Regions from separate parts of the Homo sapiens genome. Here region 1 is linked to region 2. The links are contacts of gene promoters, found by promoter capture Hi-C in blood cells and fetal thymus (Javierre and others, 2016). All regions are on one chromosome and are shown on one strand. Each heading gives the region's core, a stretch centred on a gene start or on the middle of the fragment in contact. The rest is flanking DNA. Distances are from core to core; before and after follow the strand shown. Region 1 overlaps KBTBD6-DT (KBTBD6 divergent transcript). Region 2 holds the start of KBTBD6 (kelch repeat and BTB domain containing 6).

Evidence for each region. The method cuts DNA at HindIII sites, captures the fragments that hold promoters and counts their contacts. A CHiCAGO score of 5 or more calls a contact.
Region 1: a fragment that was not itself captured here is called in contact with the fragment with the promoter of KBTBD6 in region 2 in 1 of 17 cell types (megakaryocytes); the score reaches 5.4 in megakaryocytes.

What each region holds. Positions count from the first base shown.
Region 1 is chr13:41,183,782-41,190,882 of GRCh38, reverse strand. The region is part of intron 3 of KBTBD6-DT (KBTBD6 divergent transcript); the gene reads right to left. It overlaps KBTBD7 (kelch repeat and BTB domain containing 7), which reads left to right. Exons shown (of 1, transcript NM_032138.7): 1 at 1-1,049. Among named protein-coding and RNA genes, the nearest start is that of KBTBD7, 7.2 kb to the left of the region's middle. The HindIII fragment of the contact is 1,598 bases long and covers 4,241-5,838 here.
Region 2 is chr13:41,129,476-41,136,416 of GRCh38, reverse strand. It overlaps KBTBD6 (kelch repeat and BTB domain containing 6), which reads left to right and starts at 3,615. Exons shown (of 1, transcript NM_152903.5): 1 at 3,615-6,941. The coding sequence starts at 3,906. The coding sequence ends at 5,930. KBTBD6-DT (KBTBD6 divergent transcript) reads right to left here and starts at 3,489. Exons shown (of 4, transcript NR_120423.1): 1 at 3,362-3,489. RefSeq lists enhancers at 3,313-3,552, 3,913-3,962. The HindIII fragment of the contact is 7,724 bases long and covers 989-6,941 here.

The DNA.
Region 1 (7,101 bases), core at 3,790-6,289, 53 kb before region 2:
TATGTTTCCTCTAAAATATTTCCCTAAACAGTGGTATACATGGTTATTTTATTATGAGATTTGTATATGTTCTGTGTTTCTCTGTGAACAATGTTTCAGTCTCTCTGTCACCATATGTAAGGGGAAGTCCACAAATATAGACTACATTGCACAAAACTAAAATTGTTAATTACAAGAAAATATAGGTGCTTACCTTTTGAAGGTTTATTAATACATATGGTTGTCACAATACGTATATATGATAAATGGTGTACATATACAGATGTTTATGGTGTATAAATTTTTCTATACCCAATTAGAATTATCTTCCTGATTCTTTATTCAATAACATGCTAATTCCTCTTCTATGTTCTATAGTGACAGAATGCTAACTTTTCTTATACCCTGGCAGAGGACAGAGGAGTCTGGTCTAGGATGGGGAACTGAATTTTTGAACGAAAAGGAAAGAGAAAGGATGAAAAAACAAACAAACAAAAAAACACACGATAATGTTTCTTAGTCATTTTGATTGGCCATTTGAACAGTCTACAAGTTTAACGTTATTTCCAGTGAAGTAGGATGGCTGACCTAGCAATACATGTTTCTTCAAAAGGGTAAACATGCTTTAGTGACCTAAAGCTAAATTTTGTACATTTGACATCAGGGATGTTATAAGTACTGCACTTAATACAAAGCTATTTCTCAATTGTGTTATTTTTGAGACAAATTTTTCTTCACCATTAACTTCTTGTTGGTAGCTTTTTGTTTTGTAAAAATTGAGAGATGGCAATGCTTATCTCAACCAGATTATCCATCTGCAGAATTAAGGTATGCAACTGGTAAATAAAAGACAAATGCTCCAGTTTGTCTTTCTCAACCTTTGAGTTCTTAACCTTTGAGTTAAAACCTAGTCTAAATAGTGGGAATGTCTTGGTTTACAGTAAGGTTTTCTTGGGAAGGATCTTGGTTTTGTGATCTATTTGTGAATTAAGGAGTAGATGTTAACCATTATTTTATAGATAAGTGATTTGTACATGGTTAGTTATAAATAAAACTGGTACTAGAACCCAGGTTTCCTGACTTTCTAATTCAATGGTTCTGCTAAATGTACAAAATTCTTGCTGTGCAGTGAACTAGCAGTGTTGAAATATCTTCATGACAAGAACCCTTTTCTAAGTTTTCCAATTAATCAGCACATCGTTTAGCAAATGCTTTCTATAATGTCATTTGTAGGACTGCCATTGGTAAGATTTAGTTTTATTTCATGTTTTTAAATTCAACAGTAAGTAATACTGGTGTTTTCAAAAAGGTAAAATAGAAGACTAATTTAGCAAATAACTTGTTTAAATTTAGTTTTAGGATTAAGTTATAATAGCCCCTCATATCTCCTCTAGTTGAGCAGTGTTGTTCTGTTTTGGTGCCTGGATCTTAATAGAGAATATGATGAAAACTTTTGACCCATTCTTCAGGAAAATTCATATGTTCATAATTTCATAATTTTAAGGGTATAATGACATTTCTGAAGTTCATCCACACACCCAGGGTAAAAACTCTTGTGACAAGGTCTCAAGAACATATCTACAAAAAGAAATTTGCATTTTTCACAAGACACATAGCTCAAATGTTTGTAGGGTGAAAGAGTAATTCCCAAAATAGGGCGAAAGAAATAATATACGTCCAGGCGTGGTGGCTCACGCCTGTAATCCCAGCACTTTGGGAGGCCAAGGTGGGCAGATCACGAGGTCAAGAGATCAAGACCATCCTGGCCAACATGGTGAAACCCCGTCTCTACTAAAAATACAAAAATTAGCAGGGCATGGTGGCGTGCGCCCATAGTCCCAGCTACTCGGGAGGCTAAGGCAGGAGAATCGCTTGAACCCGGGAGGCAGAGGTTGCAGTGAGCCGAGATCGTGCCACTGCACTCCAGCCTGGCGACAGAGCGAGACTCCATCTCCAAAAAAAAAAACAAAAAAAACACAAATAAAAAAAGAAATAATATACATTCACCATCAGAAAGAAATGTGAAAAATTAGTACCTCAGAATGAAGGCAAAGTTGACATTTCTGAAATTCTAATTTCCTCATGATGAGTAATGCAAGAATGAGTAACGAAATGTAAACTATTCAAAGGATAAAGTGCACTAGTGTATATGAAAGCTTTGAAACTTACGTGTTATACAAATGTAAGTGATAACGATTATTGTCCAAGAAGGCTATGTATATATTAGGATTTAAAGCAAAATACGTGGTTCAGATGTTTCAAACTACTGGCACCATGGCTCATTACTAGAAATATATCTTAGTAGCAAAAGTTCATTGTCTCTTCATAAATAGGAAAACAAATGGTTGGAAAAGTGCATCTACCTGAAAGGGATCTATAGTAAATGTAGTCAAAAAATATAATCAATTTTTTAAACCCTGCTCATTAAACCAGGAACCAGTGCTTTGCCTGATGTTATTTTTACCAATTTGTGCTGAAGTGAAAAACTATAAAACACAATGAATGAGCTGTAAGATAAAAATTATTCTATTTGTTTTATTGTTCATAAATTGGAAATGTAAAAATGTTTCAGCCTTATATCAGTCCCCTAAACACTAAAAGAAAATTGACTGGTCTTTGAAATCCAAAAATCTGATCACCAGAATGTAAATATCCTTTCATCAAATCTCTACTTCCCATATCTATTTGAAACTTCAACACTGTTTCATCTTTACAACTAATTTTAAAAGAATATTTGTTACAGCAAATATAATAAAGCAGAAAGTATTAGGAGGCAAAATTATAGAAAAGGTGACTAGCAATCCCAAGAGAATTAATTGATAATCTATTTGAGAACCATAGAGTTGATTAGATACAAGACAGTTTTTAAATGAAAAATAACAACAAAAAGGTACCATTCAGAGAAGTTGCCAAATTTTAGAGGAGTACCTTATAGGCAATAGGTTTTATGCCCTTTTCTTAACTCTGGGCTATTTTGTCACCTAGACCTTTGCCAACAGCTTCTGTTTCTCACTTTACCCTTGTGGATTCAACATGGTCCAAGGCACAGGGCAGGCAGGGAACAGATATTGTTGCATATTATTCCTCCATATCTGAGACATTTTCTCCTACTCTGTGGGGAGTCTCTCCAATGGAGAGATGGGGTTTCACCGTGTTAGCCAGGCTGGTCTCGAACTCCTAACCTCGTAATCCATCCACCTTGGCCTCCCAAAGTGCTGGGATTACAGGTGTGAGCCACCGCACCCAGCCAGACCCACCATATTTTAAGAATATTCTTTTAGGGACAAATTATTCGTTAATTTTGGGGAACCTAGCAAATAGCAATGGTTCTCACCTCAAGGCACAGCCTGATCCAGAGTGTCAATGTCTTCAAGGCTTTATTAGTACAGAGAATATGTCATAGGATGAGGTTTTCTCTCACTTTATACATTAGTTAGCACATAAGTTGGTTGTATGCAAGAGAGACCTTATAGATCTTTAAAAGGATTTCTCATATAACAGTCCAATCTTTTATGTGGATCCTGAGCTACAAAGTTATCTGAGACCCAGGCTTGTTGTCTTCCTGTTCTACTGCCCTTGGGGTGTTACCCTGTTTCACATGGTCCAAGGTGGTTCACCCTCATGTCCATATTCCAGCCATCAGGATGGGATGTTGGAAGGGCATGACCCTGTTCTGTAAGGGAAATTGTACATATCACTTCTGGTCACATGACATTGGCCAAATCTTAACTACATGGCCACACCTAGCTGCAAGGAAAAGGTAGTCTTTATTCTGTCAACATGTATCCAGTTAAAATTCAGTGGTTCCTTCTTGAAGAACGCTGAGAAAGAACATTGGGATACAAACAGCAATCTCTACTACATCATCTGTCAGGCTAGATTTTTATCACCTGACAGCTAAAATGACTGCCAGGAGTCCCAAGAACTGCAGTGTACCAACTTAGAAACCCCATTGGTATGCTTCTCTCTTTATATTAGTAATTTAGATAGTAATAACTTTTTTAAAAATCCAGTGGAAAGTGGCAATATTTTATGTATTCTCTGGCAGAAAATTCCCTGTGGGTTCTAGGACTCTGATCGCTTGTAAGAGATAAAGTTGGGAAATGTTGAGGAAAACCAATAGGTAAGCAAATAACCTCAATAAAGGTTATAGTTCCTATTGTGGCAGATTCTACAGAGACTGCAGAGTTGCAAAGGTGGGAATGTTCAGAGTACAGCATGTATTTTGATGTAACCTGATCCTAGGATGGAAGGGGAAGCTTGGCATAAGAACAAGCTGGAAAAGTTGGTAGGCATCAGCTCTTGAAGGTCTTATATGCCGTCAAGGAGTTTGGACTTTTTGATTTTTTTTGCATACAATGTGAATTCATTGAGAATTTTAAAATAGGGATTTGACAAAATCGGATTTGTTTTATTGAGACCCTTCTGGATGTACTGACAGTGCAAGATTGTGGCAGCAAGAAGAACATTTAAAGGGATGTGTTGTTGTAGTCCAGACAGTGACATAATGTGGTTCTCAACAGGGGGAGTAGTTATGGAATTGATGAGGAAGGAACAGATAAGTCAGTTAAATTGATCTGGACCTAAAATTGTATGTTTGGAGATGAGGGAGCTGTAGGGAGTATGACTAAAGTGATTTCCCGTTTCTTGCTTGGATGTTGTGTTAGAGTACAGGCCAAACTTCCATATCAAAGAGGCCCTGGAATGTAAGGTAGAAACCATTTTGTATATACATTCAGTCCAGAAGTGAACAGCCAGGCATTGCAGACTAGTTCTGCCCCATGGGGTTGTTCACAGGCCCAGGTTCTTTTATCGTTTATCCTCCCAACCCCCAGTGAGTTGTCTGTCCTCATGAGCAAAGCACATTCACCAGAATTGTATCTGTGTTTTCAGCCTGTGAAAAAGGGGAAAGAGGAAATGGAAGGCAAAAAATCTTTTCATTTTAAAGGACGTTTACATCACTTTTGCCATTTTTTTTATTGGGGAGAACTTAATCATATCACCATGCCCAGTTGCAAGATGAACTGGGAAATATTGTCACTAAATGGATGTGCCTTGCTAAAACTCACGGAGCTCTATTAATAAATAGTGTTAATAAATGAATATATTTTAATATAAACATGTTCGGTTTTCTGTATTCAGATTCAGGTGGTTCACAATGTCATGCAGGCATTATTGTTATCATGGTCATTTCAGATATCCCTACAATTATCCTTCCACAATAAATTCACAGCCAAAAGTTAAATTTCATATCATGCTGAATAATGATTTTTTAATAAACAAATGGGCCCCTGCATACCTTTAACACAGAGAGACACAAACTTGCCTCATATTTTTGCTATTAGGTCTAGTATTCCTAGGAGTGGCAGAAATTAAGCCTCCAAGGTGCCCAGGGTTCTCTCCCTTAATCCCTAAACTTTTTCCAATCCCCTTGCCTTCTCCTCTGGGAACTTACTGGCTTAGCCTTCTCACTTATCCCATATCCCAAAAGCTCTATTACTAAAAGGAAGGAGAATGGATGAGGGCACAATTAGCAATCTCCATCACAGTTGACTAAATGGATGGTGCTGCTGTTTAATGGATTTGGGAACACGGGAGTCTTGATTTGGAGACATTAGTAGATGTATTTGGTGTCCCATATCACAGGCCTTTGGCCCACCTCTGATTAAGCTACAGCTATGGCAGAAGGGAAAGGTTGATATAGATGGAGATGAATTTCTGGGTATGGCTTTGGACATCAGGTAGCTTATACCTCTAATGTTTTCTTTCTTTGAATTAGAATGCAAGAATTTCTGCTGAAAGGGGACCCCCATGGGCAAGGGTGCTTGAAGAGAGGGTGAACCTACTAACTGGTAAGCTTCCTGAGATCAGGGGATAAGGTTTATTTCATCTTTATAGCCCTCATAACACTAATCAAAGAGCCTTGAACACAGTTGAAAAAACATTTAATATTGGAAGTGTTACTGTAAAATAGAACCGCTCATATTCTAGATCTTAACAATGTAAGATATATATAATATAAATTTATGTTTTTACATAATCCTTTAGTGGCCTGAATTTCTGTATATTGTTCTTCATCATAAGTTGATTCTTAATTTTTTGTCAGTTAGAATCATGAATATTAGAGCCCAATTTTCTTTTTTTATTTTTTAATTGAGACAGGGTCTCACTCTGTTGCCCAGGCTGGTGTCTAGTGGTGTGATCACAGCTCACTGAAGCCTCAACCTCCCTGGTAGAGCCCAGTTTTCTTATATAAACCCAAGGAACTTTAAATAATTTACCAAGGCTTGTACTGCTAGTTATTCATAAAACTGGAATTAGAACTGTGTTTCCTATCTCTTAAAGCACTTTCTAGTACACACTCTTGCCTGCTGAATAGCACTACCTCAAACAGGACTCAGAAAGTAAAATCACTATTGTTCTTTTTTTTTTTTTGTATTTTTTGTAGAGACAGGATTTTACCATGTTGCTCAGGCTGGTCTTGAACTCCTAAGCTCAAGGGATCAGCCTGCCTTGGCCTCCCAAAGTGCTGGGATTACAGGTGTGAGCCACCACACCTGGACTATTGCTCTGCTTGAGATTTATTTGGTCCTCCAGTCTAGTCCTGATGCACCTTAGGGCACGTGGTCTGGAATTTCTGACTCTTTACTCAGAACTCTGAATCAAGAGACGGCCCAACTAAAAGTCATCTTAGAACAATGGAGAAGGAGTGTGAAAAATTGGCTTTAACTGAAAACAAAACCCAATCAAACCCTTCAGTGATGATAAGTTTTAAAGTATTAAAACACAGTATTATTTTTAGTGTTATATTATGCTTATATTTTAGTATTCTATTTAGTATTTATATTTTTTTGTATTTTATTTTGACCATGTCAGTTCAGATAATCTCAATGAGAGCATTTAGCTAATTTAATAAATATTAAATTATTTTTATATTTAAATTCACAGTTATGATATAATTATATCAAGGTAATAATAAGATGTACCTTCCCAAATACTACCTATGTTCTGTGTATTCCCTGAATAAGAATTGAATGAATGCTTAAGGAGCAATAAAATCATTTCTAAATCTAAACAATTTGCACAGTATTACAGTAAAAATTTAAAGATATCACATCATAT
Region 2 (6,941 bases), core at 2,366-4,865:
TTGTCTAGCTAGAAGGAAGTTGAAAGTTGTAGGATTGGCCATAACAATTTGGACCTGTGCGTTTAAACTTATTTTCTGTACTTCTAGGGCCAAAGTGGTATAATTTTCTTCTACAAAGGTTAAGGAGAGGCTTGAACTACCTTTTCTTTTTTTTTTGAACTATCCTTTTTAACTGTATTAATGCCATAGTGGGTGTCAAGGGCCCTCATGGTGCATATGAAAAGAGAATCATTGATATCCCTGGGAGGTTTTCCCCAATTCCCTGTAGTTGCCTCAATTTGGAGGTAATTCCAGAAGGACACACCATTGACAGGTGGGATAGCAGCTTTAAATATTTTGAAGTCCCAGACAATCAGTCCAAATGCCCTTGGGGAAGGCATGAAAAGTGGTATCCTATGGGGAAACAGGTGGGGTCTGAGGTATAGTAATTATTAACAATTACTGGGATTAACAACTGGGTAGATCCCTCAGAAGAGCAGAGTCTTTGTGTGGAACTGAACGCAGTTTGTAAGGCTGGTTGGGAAGTGGTGGAAGAGAAAATGGTTATTATTAGGGATAAAAGTGCTCCTACATTTTTTCCTACACTTGATCCTGAAAAAGTGGAGTCATTGAGTTTGGAGATTTCAAGAGACTCATTAATCATGTTAAGAATTAAGTTTCATTTAGTACATGCTGAGAAATTGGGGATAATAGAAGAGTCAAGGGCCATTAGGCATGAGACTCTGGGCAGGTTGAGTTCCTTAAAGAGTTTGGCTAGTTTGAATATAACGGTACCACTGGCCTGCTTGTTTCATTTTCCAGAGGACTGGTAAGGAGACTGCAGTTTTTGTAACATTGGAAGTACTTGTTGAAGATCCTGAATAACCTTACTACTGAAGTGAGTTCCTCCACTGTTATTAAAAAAAACAGAGATCCCTAGGAGGGGAAAATTCTTTCTGGTATCAGGTTAACTTCAGTGGTGATAGTAGCTTGTTTACAGAGAAAAGCTTTTAACCATGCTGAAAACATGCCAACTATGGTTAAAACATATTTGTACCCATAAGACTTTGAGAGTTGATATATTTTCCAATGAAAACAAGGACTAGAGAGAGTTGACTCTCATGCTTGTCCCACTTTACATGTTGACTAGGATTGTGTTTCTGGCAGATGGGGCAAGTTGAAGTTAACTGCTCAGTATTAGGGCATCCCCAACAATATTTGCGGAGAAAGATTTTCTTTGCCATAATGTGTAATCTCATGGAGGCTGCAGAATAAATTTTGGGTGAGGGACCAAGAGAAATCAATGATGTCTAGGTGTCTCCAAAGCCCATCTGAGTAGAAAAAACATCCAGCTTGTTGCTTTTTTGCTTTTTCAGCCTCAGGTGCTAGCAGCTGTTATATCTTAAGTTTCTTAAGAGTTTCTGTCTTTAGAGTAGGTTGAGCAAGGAGAAGTATACACGTGATTCAGGAGGTGTTTTCTTGGGAAGCAGCAACCTTAGCATATTTTCAGCCAGTTAAGTTTCCTTTAGCTTTGTTAGTCCAGCCACTAGTGTGAGCTTTGATTTTTGAGAATGGCTAATTTCTGGATAGCTGTAAGGACTTAAACAGGGGGGCTGGGCGCGGTGGCTCACGCTTGTAATCCCAGCACTTTGGGAGGCCGAGGCGGGTGGATTACCTGAGGTCAGGATTTTGAGACCAGCCTGGCCAACGTGGCGAAACCCCATCTCAACTAAAAGTAAAAAAAAAAAAAAAAAAATTAGCCGGTCATGGTGGTGGGTGTCTGTAATCCTAGCTACTCAGGAGGCTGAGGCAGGAGAATCGCTTGAACCCGGGAGGCGGAGGTTGCAGTGAGCCAAGACCGCGCCACTGCAACTCCAGCCTGGGTGACAAGAGCGAGACTCCATCTCAAAAAAAAAAAAAAAAGACTTAAATAAGTTAGTGAGTTGGGTTCTGAGTGGTACTCCTCAGTTGTCATAAACCTCTTTCTTTCCATAGCATACCAAAATAACGTGCAATTCCAAAAGTAAACTGGCTGTCTCTATAAATGTTAGTTCCCTTATCTTGTGCTAACATGCAAGTTTGGGTGAGTGCTTAAGAATTCAATGATTTGGGCCATGTTAACTTAAGTGGAGATTTCAACTTAATAGGCTGTTGAAAATCTGCAATAGTGTATCCTGCTTAAAATTCCCCATTTGTACTCCTGAGGTAAGAACCATCTACAAAGGTGATATCAAGGTCTCTGAGAGGAGTTCTGGTGATGTCAGAGTGAGGAAATGTGAATGACTGTGTGACGGTGATTCAGTCACAAGGTTGTCCTTCAGAGGGAATGGGAAGAAGAGTGGCTTGATTGTTTTGACTACGGTGGACAGTGATGAGAGAGGAAGACAGTGGCAGGGTTTCACAGGAGGTGAGTCCGAAGCGGAAACGTGTTAGGTGTTCTCAGTGACTTCTAATGTCTGAACTGCACGGGGTAAGTAAAGGTTGAGTGAATGACTAGAAATAAAGTCAGCTCTGATGGAGAGGCAACTTCATACAAGCAAGGGGAGAAATGCTTGAGCCACTGGGTCTAAAAGGATGCTAAATTACCAACCAGGCCTCTGGCTTCCATTGTGTTTTGGGGTGAGGACCCCCTAAAGCATGTCTCTTCTTTTGTGTAAAAAAGGGAAAGGGGTACTGAATATTGGAGAGACCAAGTGGGAGAAGTGGCTACAGAGGACTTCAGGTTTTGAAATGCAGATATGGAAGGAAAGTCTCAAAGTCAGGTGACTGGAGGTGGTCTCCTTTTAGTCATGGCAAATAAGGACAGGCAATTGTGAAAAAGCCAGGGATCTAATTCCAGCGATAGCCAACCAATCCTACAAACCCTGAGTTATCTTTTGGTACCAGGGAGAGGCATAGTGAGTAAAAAAAAAAAAAAAAAAAAAATCACTTCTAATGGATACATACACTAATACAAGATGTTAATAATAAGGGAACTGTGAAGTGGGGAGAGATATATGGAAGTTCCCTGTCCCTGCTGCTCAATTTTTCCGTAAACCTAAAAATAAAATCTAATTTACACACACACACACACACGCCCCTAAAAAGGGATCTCTGCTGGAACTTGCAAGGTTTTCTGTTTTGGGGGGTTTTTTGTTTTCCTACAGGCTCATAATTTCAAATTAGTGGTGCTTCCTTTTTTTTTTTTTAATAAAGGCTGGAAGAAAACTTATCGAACCTTTATAATTCTAAGAACTGAGTAATTATTCTACAAACCAACAAATATTTATTAACAGCGTCCTATAACCAACTCATGTAATCTTCACACAATCCTATGAAATACTACTGTTCACGTCTTACAAAAGAAGAAACAGTTCAAAGAGACAAGTCAAACAATACATACTAGAACGAGGCGACTACTCTGGATTCCAAAACCACAGTTCCAAACCACAAAATCGAATCTAGGAAAATTGGCGCTCTCGAGTGTCGTCAGCTAAAACAAGGAACACCAGAGAAGGATCGCGATATTACACAAACTACTACTCCCGACATGCAAAGCGGATTCTTTCCCTCGGTCTCGGCCCGGGAGTCCGAGAGTCCCAGCAGCCCTCGGGGCGCGAAAGGCAACCTGGGAGCGGTAGTTCTCCTGGGCGCCTAGCATTGTCGCCCACGCTGCAGTAGCGGCTTCTGCGGCTCCAAGCCAGCGGGTCCTGTGAAGGCGAGCAGACGCGGAGAAAGGACGCGGGAGTGAGAGAGGGTGAGTCAGCCACTGTCTAAACGATAACGGGAGGCGGTTCTGCGGGGTAGGGTTGAATTCAGTAAATGGGCTCGTGCTGCTGTCTCTTCGGAGACGCTGCTATCTTAGCGTCAGCGAGGGAAGGTTGAGGAGGAGCCAGAGCCGGGTCCTGCAGCGTTTCTCGCCATCAGCGCCCGTCGCCATCTCCACCATGCAGTCCCGGGAAGACGCCCCGCGCTCTCGCCGCCTAGCCAGTCCCCGTGGTGGGAAGCGGCCCAAGAAGATTCACAAACCCACAGTTTCGGCCTTTTTCACGGGTCCAGAGGAATTAAAGGACACGGCCCATTCTGCAGCCCTGCTGGCACAGCTCAAGTCCTTCTACGATGCGCGGCTGCTGTGTGATGTGACCATCGAGGTGGTGACGCCTGGCAGCGGGCCTGGCACGGGTCGCCTGTTCCCCTGCAACCGCAATGTGCTGGCCGCGGCATGTCCCTACTTCAAGAGCATGTTCACAGGTGGCATGTACGAGAGCCAGCAGGCCAGCGTGACCATGCACGATGTGGACGCCGAGTCCTTCGAGGTGTTGGTCGACTACTGCTACACGGGTCGTGTGTCTCTCAGTGAGGCCAACGTGGAGCGCCTGTACGCGGCCTCCGACATGCTACAGCTGGAATATGTGCGGGAAGCCTGTGCCTCCTTCTTAGCCCGACGTCTTGACCTGACCAACTGCACCGCCATCCTCAAGTTTGCAGATGCCTTTGGCCATCGCAAGCTGCGATCCCAGGCCCAGTCCTATATAGCTCAGAACTTCAAGCAACTCAGCCACATGGGTTCAATTCGGGAGGAGACTCTAGCAGATCTGACCCTGGCCCAGCTGCTGGCTGTCCTGCGCTTGGATAGTCTGGACGTGGAGAGTGAGCAGACAGTGTGCCATGTGGCAGTGCAGTGGCTGGAGGCTGCTCCCAAAGAGCGGGGTCCCAGTGCTGCAGAAGTCTTCAAGTGCGTGCGCTGGATGCACTTCACTGAAGAAGATCAGGACTACTTAGAAGGGCTGCTGACCAAGCCCATCGTGAAGAAGTACTGCCTGGACGTTATTGAAGGGGCCCTGCAGATGCGCTATGGTGACCTGTTGTACAAGTCTCTGGTGCCAGTGCCAAACAGCAGCAGCAGCAGTAGCAGCAGCAACTCTCTTGTATCTGCAGCAGAAAATCCACCCCAGAGACTGGGTATGTGTGCCAAGGAGATGGTGATCTTCTTTGGACACCCCAGAGATCCCTTTCTCTGCTGTGATCCATACTCGGGGGACCTTTACAAAGTGCCGTCACCTTTGACCTGTCTGGCTCACACTAGGACTGTCACCACTTTAGCTGTCTGTATCTCTCCTGACCATGACATCTATCTAGCTGCTCAGCCCAGGACAGACCTCTGGGTGTATAAACCAGCTCAGAATAGTTGGCAGCAACTTGCAGATCGCTTGCTGTGTCGTGAGGGCATGGATGTGGCATATCTCAATGGCTATATCTACATTTTGGGGGGGCGAGACCCTATTACTGGAGTTAAGTTGAAGGAAGTGGAATGCTACAATGTTAAGAGAAACCAGTGGGCATTGGTGGCTCCACTGCCCCATTCTTTTTTATCCTTTGACCTAATGGTAATTCGAGACTATCTCTATGCTCTCAACAGTAAGCGCATGTTCTGTTATGATCCTAGCCACAATATGTGGCTGAAGTGCGTTTCTCTGAAGCGCAATGACTTTCAGGAAGCCTGCGTCTTCAATGAGGAGATCTATTGTATCTGTGATATCCCAGTCATGAAGGTCTACAACCCAGTTAGGGCAGAATGGAGGCAAATGAATAATATTCCCTTGGTCTCAGAGACCAACAACTACAGAATTATCAAGCATGGCCAAAAATTGTTGCTCATCACCTCTCGCACCCCACAGTGGAAAAAGAACCGGGTGACTGTGTATGAATATGATATTAGGGGAGACCAATGGATTAATATAGGTACCACATTAGGCCTCTTGCAGTTTGATTCTAACTTTTTTTGCCTCTCTGCTCGTGTTTATCCTTCCTGCCTTGAACCTGGTCAGAGTTTCCTCACTGAAGAAGAAGAAATACCAAGTGAGTCTAGCACTGAATGGGACTTAGGTGGATTCAGTGAGCCAGACTCTGAGTCAGGAAGTTCAAGTTCTCTTTCTGATGATGATTTTTGGGTGCGTGTAGCGCCTCAGTGAAATGCACAGGATCAACAGGGTTTGTTGTAACTAGATTGAAACACTAAGTTGTTTTTACTGTTTTGGAAAATATCTTAAATATCCTTTTTGTTCCTAAAGGAGAGGAAAAGTTGATTAACTTCTGGTTTGGTTTAGAAAAAGTAATGTTTGAAATACGAAGGTAATTTAATGTTACAAATTTTAACACTCAAATCAACCTTTTAATAATTTTCTGTGCTAAGGGTCCAGTATTTATTTGATTATTTAGTATGTTTATGTTTCATGACACTAATTTAGTCTTTTGATACATTTTACATTCTGTTTACTGCCACAAGCACTGTGGCAATAACTTTTGAATTTTAATTTTTATAATAGAAAAATGATTAGGAATTGCTAGATAGTGTTTTGAAAGCATATCTTTTTCTTCAGAACAATGTAGACTTCCAAAATGGTTAACCTAAGGGGTCTTTACAAAATGTGTTATAAGTTAAACATAATTTGGGAAGTTTTACTTTTGTTTTCTTCTATGAAGAAAAAAATGCAGGCTGGGCGCGGTGGCTCACGCCTGTAATCCTAGCACTTTGGGAGGCCGAGGCAGGTGGATCACCTGAGGTCAGTTCAAGACCAGCCTGGCCAACATGGTGAAACCCCGTCTCTACTAAAAATACAAAAATTAGCTGGGCGTGGTGGCATGCGCCTGTAATCCCAGCTACCCAGGAGGCTGAGGCAGGAGAATTGCTGAAACCCGGGAGTCAGAGGCTGCAGAGAGCCGAGACTGGGCCACTGCACTCCAGCCTGGATGACAGAGTGAGACTCCGTCTCAAAAAAAAAAAAAAAAAAAAAAGGAAAAAAAAAAAAGAAAAAAAACCATATGTGTATTAGGGTGACTGAGTGGTGACTTCATTTATAATAATACAGAGAATAGCTATAAGCTCATTGACAGTAAAAACAACAAACCAGGATTCTACTGTTTGAAAAGAAGTTTCGTTTTAATTTTGGAATTTAGAATGTGTATTTGCAAAGTCACCAATT